Linked DNA regions of Homo sapiens: region 1 is linked to region 2. Evidence: promoter capture Hi-C in 16 types of primary human blood cells and fetal thymus (Javierre and others, 2016). All regions are on one chromosome and are shown on one strand. The core of a region is centred on a gene start or on the middle of the fragment in contact, and the rest is flanking DNA. Distances in the headings are between cores, read along the strand shown. Region 1 holds the start of LOC102723529 (a long non-coding RNA gene). Region 2 holds the start of ATP2B4 (ATPase plasma membrane Ca2+ transporting 4).

What was found. The method cuts DNA at HindIII sites, captures the fragments that hold promoters and counts their contacts. A CHiCAGO score of 5 or more calls a contact.
Region 1: a fragment that was not itself captured here is called in contact with the fragment with the promoter of ATP2B4 in region 2 in 2 of 17 cell types (M2 macrophages and M0 macrophages); the score reaches 8.6 in M2 macrophages.

Annotation. Positions count from the first base shown.
Region 1 is chr1:203,368,234-203,375,029 of GRCh38, reverse strand. It overlaps LOC102723529 (a long non-coding RNA gene), which reads right to left and starts at 2,047. Exons shown (of 7, transcript XR_922438.3): 1 at 1,918-2,047; 2 at 301-452. The HindIII fragment of the contact is 7,588 bases long and covers 1-5,820 here.
Region 2 is chr1:203,623,578-203,630,755 of GRCh38, reverse strand. It overlaps ATP2B4 (ATPase plasma membrane Ca2+ transporting 4), which reads right to left and starts at 3,924. Exons shown (of 21, transcript NM_001684.5): 1 at 3,537-3,924. RefSeq lists enhancers at 283-969, 3,183-4,055, 4,056-4,930 and silencers at 1,024-1,083, 1,144-1,223. The HindIII fragment of the contact is 13,651 bases long and covers 1-4,263 here.

The DNA.
Region 1 (6,796 bases), core at 777-3,276, 250 kb after region 2:
TGTGGCAAACTTCATTGTCATCTTATTTTAAGAAATTGCCACAGCCACTTCAGTCTTCAGTGACCACCACCCTGATCAGTCAGCAGCCATCAACATGAGTCAAGACCCTCCACTTGCAAAAAGGTTATGACTTGCTGAAGCCTCAGATGTTCATTAGCATTTTTATCAATAAAGCATTTTTAAATTAAGGTATGTACAATGTTTTTTAGACATAATGCTATTGCACACTTAATAGACCCTAGTATAGTATAGACATAATTTTTATATGCACTAGGGAACCAAAAAATTCATGTGACTCACTTGATTGAGATATTCACTGTTGCAGTGGTCTGGAACGGAACCTGCAATATCTCCGAAGTATGCTTATATTACAATAATTACCTTCCAGGAAATTCTTCTTGCTTCCTCTGTTTCCTCCTGCCTCCAATATTCCTTTTAAGGTCAGAGCATTTCTAGGGGGAAAAAATGCCATTTTCATTGGCTTGTATTTAAGGGAGCTCCAGGGTCTAATTCTTTGGAAGTTGTCCTTCATAAAAGGTTCTGAGGAATCAAAACAGCACTGCAGACTGTCACTGTACCCAGTGACAGTCTACAGACAAGAGGGGTGGCGGGCGCAAGCACGGAGCATACCGTGAAGGCCCTGGAACCCTTTCTAGAAATCTTCTGTGCTCCCTTAGAGACCACAGCTTGGTAAACCCTGCACCTTTAAATATCATTTTATTAGAGTGAACAGAGCCTGCAGGCACAGCATTAATCAACTAAGTGTTCCCTTCAGGCCTGGGAGCTGGCGTAGTTTTGCCTTCCCTTTGTCCCAAGGTCAGAAATTACTTTGCACTTCACTTGGCTCAATTTCCCTTTGGATTACCACTAAGATAGCTTTTAACTAAAGGTTTTCTCTCCCTTGAAATGCACCAGACTCTCAGCTAAGACTGCTGGCCTCAGATCACAAATTCCTCCTCCTTTCCCTCCCCTGAGAACTAACTCTGAAGGGTGATTGATTTACTTAACCTTTGTTGGTACAAATATGAAAGGCAGCTGCCTCTCTTCAGCTAACATTTGAACCAGTTTATGTTATTTCTCTCTGTGAGCTGGCATTTCTTAAAGGTCTTCTCTGACCTTACTCCAAAAAAGTGGTAAAGCCCTCCTTACCACTGGCAGAAAATGGGAGGAAATACAGAAGGGAAAAGGGGGCCAAAGTGGAGAGGTGGTGAAGAGGAAGGAGAGTGGTCAGCAGCGTTGGCATTCAGGAGACCGGAGGTGCCAGTAGAAGAGCTGCAGAGTCCCTCCTAGAGTCTGTGCCTCAGCCTCCCCAGGGGTCCCCTTTCCTTCTTCCCTTTCTCCTCCCCACTCTGGGATGGCCTATGCCTCCACTCTGCCCCCAGTCCTCTTCTTTTTCCTGGACCCCAGGACAAGAGAGGACTTTCCCCCTGGGGTCTAAGACTGCCATATTGTTCCCCCTCCAACCTTAATCAAGGTCTCTCAGCCATGGGCCTCTGCAAGTCCTACCCTTCCACCTTGCGTTAGTTAAGATAACACTAACTGCTATAATAAACCTAAAACTCTCTATGGATCAAATATGACAGTAATCTAGTTTTTGGCCAGGCATGGTGGTTCACGCCTGTAATCCCAGCACTTTGGGAGGCTGAGGTGGGAGGATCTCTCGAGCCCAGGAATTTGAAACCAGCCTAGGCAACATAGTGAGTCGAAAGAAGGAAGGGAGGAAGGAAGGAAGGAAGGAAGGAAGGAAGGAAGGAAGGAAGGAAGGAAGGAAGGAAGGAAGGGAGAAAGGAAGGAAGGAGAAAGGAAGGAAGAAAGGAAGGAAAAGAAAGAGAGAGAGAAAGGAAGGAAGGAAGGAGAGAAAAGAAAGAAGGAAGGAAGGAAGGAGGGAAGGAAGGAAAGAAGGTATTTTTTGCTCACATAAAGTCCAAAATGGGTCTTCCTGACTGGCAGGCAGCTCTCCTCTGAACAGTGATCTGTATCTGGGTTCCTTCTATTCTATGGTTCCACCCTCTTCATCCACTGGCTCCCAAAGTGGGAGAGGAAAATCGCAAAGGACTGTGTGGGGTAGACTTACGCACCAGGCCTGGAAGAGGCCCGTGGCTTCTCCTCACATTCCATTGGCTGGAGCCCAGTCAAATGGCCACAAGGGAGGCTGGGAAATGTAGGGTAGCTGTGTTCCCAGGAAGAAGAGGAGCCAGTCTCTGCTCACCCCTGCCTCTTTCTTACTTTCCTATTTTGCCTGTGGTGAAGATATCTTCACCAGATATCTGTTAGGGCTGGTTTTTTAATATGTGGTGAAGCTCAGCTGCTTCGCTTATTTTTCCAGACGGGGATGCCCACTAAGTGTTACCTTCACATCAATCCCCAAACATGGTGGTGGCTCCCTCAGGCACTCCATTGAGAAGCATTTGCAGCCTCTCTGGGTCTTGAGTGCCAGGATTGACTGATGCAGAGTGGGTGTGGCGGCAAGGGTACCATTTTTTGGCCATCTTGCTCAAACAGCATTTTGGGGGTTTATTTCCCCAGCGGCTGTGTGATCCCAATGGTTGGGGCCATCATCCCAGAGGCCCATCACTTTTTTTTTTTTTTTTTTTGAGACAGAGTCTTCATTTTGTCACCCAGGCTGGAGTGCAATGGCGTGATCTTGGCTCACCACAACCTCCACCTCCCAGGTTCAAGCGATTCTTCTGCCTCAGCCTCCCGAGTAGCTGGGATTACAGGCACCAGCCACCACACCTGGCTAATTTTTGTATTTTTAGTAGAGATGGGGTTTCACCATGTTGGCCAGGCTGGTCTCGAACTCCTGACCTCAGGTGATCCACCTACCTTGGCCTCCCAAAGCCCAGCCGGCTCATCATTTTTTTTTTTTTTAAACTTGAGACAGAGTCTTGCTCTGTTGCCCAGGCTGGAGTGCAGTGGTGCAATCTCAGCTCACTACAACCTCCACCTCCTGGGTTCAAGTGATTCTCCTGCCTCAGCCTCCCCAGTAGCTGGGATCTCAGCTCACTGCAACCTCTGCCTCCTGAGTTCAAGCGATTCTCCTGCCTCAGCTTCCCAAGTAGCTGGGATTACAGGCATGCACCACAACATCTGGCTAATTTTTTGTATTTTTAGTAGAGACGAGGTTTCACCATGTTGGCCAGGCTGGTCTCGAACTGCTGACCTTGTGATCCACACACTTTGGTCTCCCAAAGTGCTGGGATTACAGGCATCAGCCACTGCACCTGTCCCCATCACTTTTATATCACTTCCTTTCAGTGCTCCCAGGATGATACACCCTTCTTTTCATTTCACCACTTTAACCCCTCTGGGCCAGTCTCTGTGTTCTAGTTAACCTCAGCAACTTGCAGAGCAGAACTGACTTGTATAAGGCTAATTGGAGAGGAGGAGCAGATTATGAAAGGCCTACAAAAACAGCCCTGTGGCCCAGGAGACATGAAGCAGTGCAGTGGACAGCATGATGCAGGAAGCAACCTGCTGGGGTGAACAAGGAAGACTGTGGACCTGTGGCAGAGGCTGAGGGCAAAGACGGCAGCCAAAGCCCTGGGCCAGAAGGTGGTGCAGGTGTTGCCAAAGTGACAAAGAAATTTGGCCTGGAGCTCCCTTCTCTACACCCTGCCCTCCCTCAGTTCCACTGTAGCTAGAGCGCTGGAAGCTGAGTTGCGGTGTCAAGCACATGTGGGCATTTGTGCCTGCCCACCTACTCACACCCCTATGGGGATCTTCATCATTGGCACTGACCCCTTCTCCATTATACCAGATTGTCCACGTCCCTTCCTGATGGCTAACAAGATGCAAATACATTCACATCCCTCTCCCAGGTGTGCTTCTCTAAGGTAACAAAGTCCTTCAGTTAATCCAGCCCTGAGGGACAGGAGAGATAGGGCAAGATCTTCAAGTCCCTAAATCTGAAAGGGAAACAAATGGCCCAACACTGCAGTCCTTGGTGTTAATGAGAAAGACCTGGAGAGACCGTTAAAATTACAGACTCCTGGGCCCCTATGCAGAACCACTGAATGCGAATCTCCAGAGGCAGAGTCTCCTTGGCTGCCTCAGTGGCACCACAGGGAATCCAGATGCACACCAAAGTTTGAGAACTACTGGCTTCAGGAGCCAGTTCTACAGAGTCTGAAATAAGAGATGCTCCGGAGAGAACCCAAGGTATCGTAATTCTGTAACATTAGCAATTGAAATGGGATTAGTAAAGATTGCTAGCACTTACTAACCATTTCTGATGTGCAGGTGCTATTCCTGTGTGCTGTACACGGCTTATTTCCTTCTCACGGTAACCTTACGAAGTAGGTTCTGCTGCTGTCTTCATTATATAGAATAGGAAACAGAGGCACAGAGAGGGTGTTCTAAGATCACATAGCTAGTAAGTAGCAAAGCCTAATTTGATCTCAGAAAGTCTTACTCCAAAGTCTCTGCTCTTAACCATTATGCCATGCTGTCACCCTTTCGCCTCTCTTATTAGGTGTGAGAGTTGAAAGGGGAGAGGTGGTCTAAAGAAGAACTGAGAGGAGGATAAGATAGCTGAGCTCCTTCTTTCCCACCTACCACCAATCCCCTCCACACTAAGAGGAGGATAATGAAGGGTTTCAGAGAAGAGATTATGAGAAAGAAAGGCCTCTATCATTTGCATTTCAGTCTGGTCACTTAAGTAATAACATCCCGCGGGTGCCTCCATGCTTCCCAGGAATGGCAAAGTCTGTTCCCTTTGTCTGCCATAATTATTTCTCTTCATTAACACCTGACAAGGTCCTACTGACCCTTCAAGTCTCCCTGGGAAGCCTTAGATAACTCTCCACCCTAACAGAGTCTATCATGACTTTTTATCTTCTTTTGCAATTATAGGTGTTCACATCTTCCTCTAGTCATTGTTCCTTGAAATCAGGGCTCCACAGCCCTGTTTATCATTGTAGTCCCCATGCTTGGCACATAAGAGGCACTCAATAAATCTTGTGGGAAAAAATGAATGAGGGAACGAAACATTTATTGAGCACATACTATGTGCCAGACGCTGCAAGACCTTATGGATCTTTGAAGATGTGTGGACATAGTTCCTGCTCACAAAGAATGTACAATCTTGTTAGGAGGAACAGATGTACCCCCAAGAAGAGTGAGACCTGGAGGCATCACTGGCCTCCCATGTCACTGTAGGTCAGTCACTGCCCTGCTTCCTCTTTTCCTCCTGGTACAAAGGGTTTATAAGTTCTCTGAGGACACTCCCTATTCTCTTGTCTATTTCTACATAGAGACATCATTAAATGGACCCTGTGTACTCGTGGTTTGGAAGGTGGAGGAGCCAGGGAGAAGGACCTGGAAAGAACACTTCTCGCTGGTACTGGGATAGAATGGTGGTTGCACAGTGAGCAGGAGAGGAAAAATGACAAAGGCCCTGGGACCCTGGGGAAGAAATAAGAGGCTTCTCTGACAGCCAACCTGGGAAGATGAAATGCTGCTAGGGGGTTGATTTGTATGTCTTGGGCACCAGTCAAAGGCTGCTTTCCGTAGTCCTGTTATTTGAGGGGAGTGGGAGGGTGGAAGGAGCTGCCTCCTTATCGCTTCCTCTCCTTAGCCAGTTCTGCTGAGAGCCCAAAAACCCTAAGACCAGATCGTCAACCCCAGCCTGCTGCACAAGATTTGTTTAGGCCTTGCGTACTAATTGGCTCCACTCTGGTGCTCCAGAAACTTAATTGTGAGCCCATCACGACCTCTTCTGTCCTCAGATAGGAATGTGCACAGGCTTGTAGCAGAAACTGGGATTGCACAAGGGACAGGATGTTGGAGGGTGGGGTGGGAAATCCTGGGTGTTAAGCTTTGCCTGAGTTGATGCAAGGTCATCTTCTGAAGGATGAGATGAAGCAACAAAGTCAGGAGGCCCAGCCAGGGCCACAGAGGTCAAGGAGGCAGAGGCATCCTATGAATTTCCCTAGTGGAAAATCAGGTGTCAGGACACAGGGTGGAAAAGTTAATGGATCTCCCAGGTCCTTGCTATTTTCTTTTTCTTCTGATTGCAGACACTTCCCAAATGACTTGTCCAGGCCTGGCCAGTCCCTCAGCAGAGGCTGGATAGAAGAGGTTAGGGTGGAGAGGTCAGCATTGCCAACAGGACTCTGGAGCCCCAAGGAACCCAATCTGTGTTCTTTCCAGAATGAGTCAGAATAGGCTGCCACAGCAGGCAGCCTTGCCGGGTCACCATTCCAGGTGACCGGGGCCACAGCACAGTCCATGCATCCCCATCCTGGTCCTGTGCAGGTGGGATTGAAGGTGCTCAAGCCCAGTGCTCTGGGACTGTGCGTCACATCCCCTAGCTGTTCATGCCCCTCTGACTTCAAGCCCCAGGCCTGATAACTGGCTTTTTTCTGTTTTGCTCTTGAGCCCCAGTTCCTTATCCCATGAGGACCTAGACTTCTCCACCAGCCTTATAGTGAAGGCTCCATCCATTGAACCCGTTTCTGGAAGCTGTTTCTTCTCCTGGCCCTCCTGCTCTTGCCCAGGGACAGAAGATCCCAATTAGATATCCATGGTAGCCATTCTTAATCGATCACATCACTCTTTCCTGTTTTTTTTCCGCTAAAGCAAGACTTAAAATCCCCCTTGACACAGAGCTCCAGACAGCCACTACCAAACCATTACACCCAGCATGGGAACTGAATCCTATTTGCCATCTCTGCTTTTTCCATTTGGACCCCTCCCAGGCCCTGCAGCTGGGACCTCTAGCAAGGACTGCCCTCATTTTCCCCGCCCCCACCCCCGCGCCTTGCCCCATTTCACCAGGCTATGCCCCAAATAT
Region 2 (7,178 bases), core at 2,675-5,174:
ATACCCACTGGGATGACAGGAATCAATGCTTATCTGAGAAGCAGGGAACTGGGCTGGGTAGGGAGCCTTGTCTGAGGGGCGCCCTTCGGGGGAAGAATTCAGATTGCCTGAAGAATCCTTCCAGAGAAGGATAGTTAAGACTCTGGGTGGGGTGTTCCCCTTCAAGGTCAAACACTTGGAGCTAATCTAACCTAAGCCAAACAGTTTTTTAGGGGTTTGGCTAACGGGGTTTGTCTTGGTCATTCTGGGGACTAAGAATGAACAAGATCCTTTTCTCTCTCCAAGGCTTAGTGGGTCTGCAATGCTCTGTCCTAGTGGATAGGGCTAATCCATGTCTTTGGGTGCTGGGTCCAAGGCCAGGAGCATTGAAAAAAAAAAAAAAAAAAGAGAGAGAGAGAGAGAGAGAGAAAAGGGGTTTCGGAGTTTTTGAGAGAAGCTAAATTCTTGAATAAGGGGCAGTTTCCGGTGGAAGGCTTGACCTGCTGACAGGTGGCAGGGAGCAGCCCAGACCCCGTTCCTCTCGGGACCTCCGGTTAGTGGGAGTGGGGAAGAGTAAAGCCTCCCGATATCCTGGCCCAGGACATCCAGCCCCTACACATCACCTTACCTCTTCCAGCCCCCACACCTTCGGCAAATTCTAACTGCTCTCCTTCTGCCCCTAACTGGGCCCTCTCATTTTGATTTTCTTCTGACAAAGACCACAGCAGTGTGACAAATCTGCCTAGCCACGCCCTGTCACCTCTACCGTGGAGAGCAGGCTTTCCATTGTGCAGAGGGGAAACTGGAGGCCAGACGGCGGGTTAGGAACTCGCTGGCGTCAGGCTGATTCCAAGGCCCCCAAACTGCCCGTGCTTCTCTCAACATGCCTTGACCCAGCGCTCTAACATCCCAGGCTCCGTGCTGGGCGCTGGGAGTCCCAGGGGTAAGACGGGCTGTGCTCCTTTGACTTGACCTTGAATCTAGAGACTTGGTGGTAAATGGAAGGGAGAAGGGTCTGAGGCTCGGCACAACCTGGGAGGCAGGAAGCCTCCGTTCGCCGCTCGGTTCGCATTCTCCACGGAGTTCTCAGACTACAGCAGAGCCCGGGAGGGTGGAGCCCAGCGGCGGAGAGGCTGGCGGGGCGGGGTCGCAGAGGCCGCGGAGAGCACAGGGGCCGCAGGGTTGCGCAGTCAATCCTGCCCCGAGCCCCGGGGGAAGGGCTGAGACTGCGGGAGCCGATTACCCCTTTGGCCGCGACCCCGGGCTCAGGCGACCCGGTGCGCGCTAAATAACGACCTCACGGAGAAGCCGTCCCCGAGCCCACCAACATCGACCCCTAATCAGATTACTGAAAATAGGAAGGCCGGCTGCAGGAATAGCTGCACTCTGAGCCTCCACGATGGGAGGCCGCGGCGAAAGCGGCGTGATTTTCGAGGTTGCACCTCAGCAAGATGGTGGCAGGGAGGATGGGACTCCCGAGGAGGAGTATAGAAATGGATCCCCTCCCTCCAGAACACGGGCATTAATTCTGTCTTGGGGGCCCTGCCCACTGGGGAAGGCCTCATTCCCTTCTCGAGCAGAACACAGGTAGGGAAGAGCTGTCTAGCCGAGGGGTGCAGTCAGATCAATCAACACCTCAAAGTGAAAATCAAATCGTTCCTGTTGCATCCCCAGCCCCGAGATGAGCTCTCCTCTAAGTGTTTTACTTCCTTCTCCCGCAGTGTCTCAGCTGTAGCCTTTACCACTCCTCCAAGCCCTGGGGCTGAAGGCAGGTGTTTCCTCTCCCCCAGCCTGATTCCCACAGATTTGTCTGCTTCAGGGTTTAGGGCCCACCTTCCAGAACACGCCTTACCAAGCTGCCACCATCCTTCCTGCCCCTCCCAGAGTCTGCTCCCCAAGCCACCACCCTCAGCCAAGGAGGGTAACTCAGCACATGGGCTAGGAGGCCTCTTCCACTCCCCTTCTTCCTAAACACTCCTGGCCCAGCCCCTCGTCACTCCCAGGCTGCTTTCCTGGGCCTGGCCCAGCCTGGAATGAGCCTGGTCTCCTTCCTCCAGGTAGAGGGCTCAGAGTGGAGGGGGCGTAGTAGGGCCTCCAATGGGAAGCGCGTGGAGAAGGGGCAGCTTGGGGAGGGGCTTAAGGAGCAGGGCCAGGGTCTCTAGACTCCCTGCCAGACTCCTCACACAGAGGAGGGGGGCGCTGCAGAATGGGATTTTGTTTCCCTTCCCTCCCCCACTCCTTTCCCCTCTCCACAGGGGCCTCAGTTGAGTACCGGCCTATTTCTTCATCTGACATTCCCCCTGCCCGGCCAGCAGGCGCCGGCATCACGTCTGCAAGTTATTGTTAAGTCCGGCAGGAATGCCCAGGAGGGACGTGCCTCTGGCAGCAGAGTGCCCACTCCCCTCCCAAGATGCGGCTGGCCACTCCTGCACCCTCCACACCCAGTTGGAGAAGAGCGGCGGGTACCCTCAGGGAGGTGGAGGAGTGTAAGAGGCCAGACTCGACTCGGGGAAGGATGCCAGCAGCCCCCTCTACCAAGAGCGAGCCAAGTATGTAAAAGAAAGAGAGAAGGGAGAGCAGGAAGGACAATCCCAGTCTTAATTCCTAGCTCTTCAGCAAGCCAAGGCAGTGGCCCGAGACGCTCAGGGATCCTTCCACAGATGCCTGTGGCCCACCCCATCTGCCAAACACTCACCAGCCCCACAGTGTCCAGCCTCGACATCGGAAACTTTTCAATTCACCCTTCTCCTTCCTCCCCTTTGGGACCAGAGATGTGTGGGGCGGTGCCCTCGGAGACACTCATACAGTTGGTTCTGGACGCTCACACACACTCAAACAACAGCGGTACGAGGTAACTCCCAGCTTTTTCCACAGCTAATTATACATGTGAAAGTCTGAGGATGTTTTGCAAGCAGCACAGAGAAACTGCTGAGGTTTCTCTGCAAAGCTAAAGAAATTTAATTCGTGCACTCTCCTTCCCCACTCCTGCCAACTTCTCCCAGCCCACCTCCACCCCATGGCCCCAAAGTGCCCCTCTCCTAGTTCCCGCTGCAGCCCCTCTTTCTGCTGAAGATTTCTTTGGTTCCTTTTTTTTTTTTTTTTCCATCTCTCTTTTGGGCTTTCGAGAAAGGGAACAGACACGGAAAATATTTTTGCAACAGTTTTCCATCCTGCGTCTCATTCCCAAGCCAAGGGGGGAAGGGGAGGGCAGGAACGGAATGGGTTGAGGGAGGGGAGATAAATATTTTTTCCAAGAGCTCAATTTTGGTGTCAAAAAGAGAACCCTCCATTACCCTACCCCATAGCCCAGGAATGACAAGAACTAGGAAAAGAGAGATAAATCACTTGTTCGACTATATGGTTTCTCAGAACTGATAATAGGTAAAACAGTATTTGACAAATCTGTGCACACACACATATTTTAAAAAAAATCCTCCAAACCCAGTCGCATGAAATATTCTAGAAAGAGGAAAATCGGGGAGTTTTAGAAGCCATTGAGAGAAAAGAAAGAAACAAAGTTTGCAAATCACAAGTCAATTCATTCTCTGCAAGCCTACCTCTCTTTCTAGCAAAGATCCAGGTTTCTTCAGGCGGGACTCTCCCTCCGGGTTTCCATGGATGAGGGTAGGGTGGGGTGACCACCCACCAGTCTCCCCAGTGTGGCAACCAAGCTAGAGACGCTGGCTTTGCTCTCTTGCCTTTCTGGCTAAGGCCGGGGAGTGGGCTGGGTCTCCTCCCCCTGCCCCTCCAATGGGAAGGACCTCTCAGGTTCCTGAAAGAAAAAGGGTGCAGGAGAGCTGGGCGGGTGTCTCTGATCTTGCTCTCTTCGGAGGGATGGTGCCCCACGAAGTTCGTGCCCCCCCTCCCAGCCCCCAGCTTTGGACGATCTCAACAGCAGAGCTTTCTTAAGAAAATGCTTGTCATGGCAACAGCTCTAGCTAACTCGGGCCAGACTCTTGCTCACCAGCTCTCCCCAAGCAGTGCGGGAAGAGAGAGGGGAGGAGCAGGAGCTGGAACAGAGGTGGGACTTGGCGCGAGGCCAAACCATTACTCTACTGTTAAGGTGGCCCGATTCTTGCGGTTACTTCCTGGTTCGTCTTAAGGGGGAATGGGAAAAGAAAGGGAAGCAATCCTCTCCCCTGTCGGCTTTCTTCCCCGCCCTTGCTCTCACTTGTTGAATAGAAAGCTGAGTAGGGGTGGAGGAGGGGTGAGGGTGGAGGTGGGGAGTGGATGTGGGTGGCGGTATTCAACGGTTGCTGGGCGGAGGGGAAAAAAAAGGAAGCTTGGGCAGGCGGCTGGCTTCCTGCAGCTCCTACGGGCCTCTCAACCCCTTACTCACTTAGATCCAGGACCCAGAAACCCGAGGTGTCTGTGGACACTTGTATGTCCCCTCCTACCTTCCTGCTCCTGTCTGAATAGGGGGTTCCTTGGAGAAGGAGAATAAATTGTTTTGTAAACACACACACACACACACACACACACACACACACACACACACACACACCCGTCCTCCCCTACACCTTATATACAGGTCACATTTTGTTCCCTCTTGTCCCTGTACCCACCAGAGGTATACTGACAGTGCATGAAAATAGCTGCTTACTTTTGAGTCCTGCTATGCGTGGGCTATGACACCAAAAGCTTTGTCTATATGGTATCGTTTCTAGTCCTCATTTAATCTTGAAAGGTACTTATTATTAACCTCATTTCCTAGTTGAGGGAATTGAAGATTGAGTGTCTGGCCCAAGGTTATACATCCGGCTAATGACAGAGCCAACGATTCAAGACCAAGTCAGACAGACTCCAAAGCCCGAGTACTTTCCTGTACTTTGTATCATACTCCGGCACATATTTCCGTTTTAATTTGCACACACTCAGACATCCATGCACACTTATACACAGCCTGTAAACAGTTAATCACACCCCCATACCCACACACCCACTAGCATTGTGCAACAGTGCCACCCATAGATTTTGCATAGAACTTTATGGCTTTCAAGCACAAACATGCACCATCAGCTGGTTCACACAACATATCTTCATTGACTGACAGATTCCCACACCTACCTCAGCAAACACACTCATGTTTATATGCTTATGGAAGGCACATTGACATATGTCTCACAGGTTATAGCTATGAGCTATGCTGTGAAGAAGGTGACTGGCCACTACTTCCCAACCTTTTAAACAGAGGGTTGGGAAAAGGCCTCTTTGATCCTATCATTCTAACCCAACAGCTCACACCACCCCCTGTCCTTCTTTGCTGTCATCTCTGCCCCCAAGAAGCAGAGCCACATGTGCATGGAGAAACAGGGTTGTGAAACGGGGTCCAGTTTCCCCCGTGTCCAACTAGCACCCTTCCCAATGTTCTCTCATTTGGGTCCTCTTTTTCCTCTTCATTTTCTTACCCTGCTATTTCTTTTTTCTTTATGGTTTTTTTTTTTTTTTTTGAGACGGAGTCTTGCTCTGTTGCCCAGGCTGGAGTGCAGTGGCGTGATCTCGGCTCACTGCAAGCTCCGCCTCCGGGGTTCACGCCATTCTCCTGCCTCAGCCTCCCGAGTAGCTGGGACTACAGGCCCCTGCCACCACGCCCGGCTAATTTTGTTTTTGTATTTTTAGTAGAGACGGGGTTTCACCATGTTAGCCAGAATGGTCTCGATCTCCTGACCTCATGATCTGCCCGCCTCGGCCTCCCAAAGTGCTGGGATTACAGGCGTGAGCCCCCGCACCCGGCCAGTAATGTTTTTAGACTGGTTGGGCTGGGCTCAGAACTCAGAGTTCATCAATGTGAGGCTGGAGATTGCCTGCTGTCATCTGAAAACAAAATCCAAAATAAGCCCTGGCTAGGCACAGTGGCTCATCCGTGTAATTCCAGTACTTTGGGAGGCTGAGGAGGGAGGATCACTTGGGGCCAGATTTCAAGACCAGCCTGGGCAACATAGCAAGACCCACCCCATCTCTACAAAAAAATTAAAAACAAGAGAAAAAAAATAAGCCCCTGCCTGTGCTTGTGCCTCTCCCTGCCAGCAGCCGAAGAAAGTTGCAGGGGTAAGGGGAGATTTTAGGGTCACCCTCTATGGGAACTATGGATTGTTTGGTCTTTTTTGTCTAGTGATTGACTGTCTGACACTCAAGGCACTTACAGGACACTAAAGGTGACCTTTGTTCTCATTTCAGCCTCTTGCAACTCCTCTAGTCACTCCCACCTTCCCAGGGCATTTCAAGAACAGTTAGTACCTTGTTAGATTCCTTCCTTCCTCCCTCCCTCTTCCCTCCCTCTTCCATTCCCTCCCTCTTCCCTTCCCTCCCTCTTCCCTTCCCTCCTTTTTCCCTCCCCTTCCCTCCTTTTCCCTCCCCTTCCCTTCCCTTCCCTTCCTTTCTCCCTTTCTTTCCCCTTCCTTCCTTCCATCTCCCTTCCTTCCTTCCCTCCCTCTACCTTCCTTCCTTCCTCCCTCCCTCTTTCTTTCTTTCTTTCTTTCTTTCTTTCTTTCTTTCTTTCTTTCTTTCTTTCTTTCTTTCTTTCCTTCCTTCCTTCCTTCCTTCCTTCTTTCTTTCTTTCTTTCTCTCTTTCTTTCTCTTTCTTTCTTTTTCTCTTCCTTTTTTCCGTCCTTCCTTCCTCTCTTCCTTCCTCCCTCCCTTCCCTCCTCCCTTTCCTTCCTTCCTTCCTTCTTCCTTCCTTCTTTTTTTTCATTATGGGTCTCCCTGTGTTGCCCAAGTTGCTTTTAAACTCCTGACCTCAAGTGATCCTCTCGCCTCAGCCTTCCTAGAAACTGGGACTACGGGCACACCCTACAATGCACAGCACCCTTGTTAGATTTTGGTAGACCCTAGCAAAATATCAGCTTCAGGAGCCCAAATCAATTGTTGGGGAAGACATGAGAAAGAAAGGAAAAGAAATGAATCAGCTTAACAGAGCTGCAGATTTAATGGCTTGTCAGGCTCCCTGCTGGATGGCAACAACATGACATTTTAGCACCAATGAGTGTCAGTTGCATCTTTATCATAAGAAAGCCAGTCTCTGAAATGACTGTTTAAATGTATTAAAGTATATTTTAAGCTCGTCTGCAGTGGCTGTGTGTGGAGGCATTGCCTAACTGTTCAGTAAACTTGTCTTGGGGGAATGACAATTTAGGCCAGATGTATGGTCCCAATAAAGAAGAAGTCTGCTTTGGCTGCCTGTTTTGTGGGGACTGGGAAAT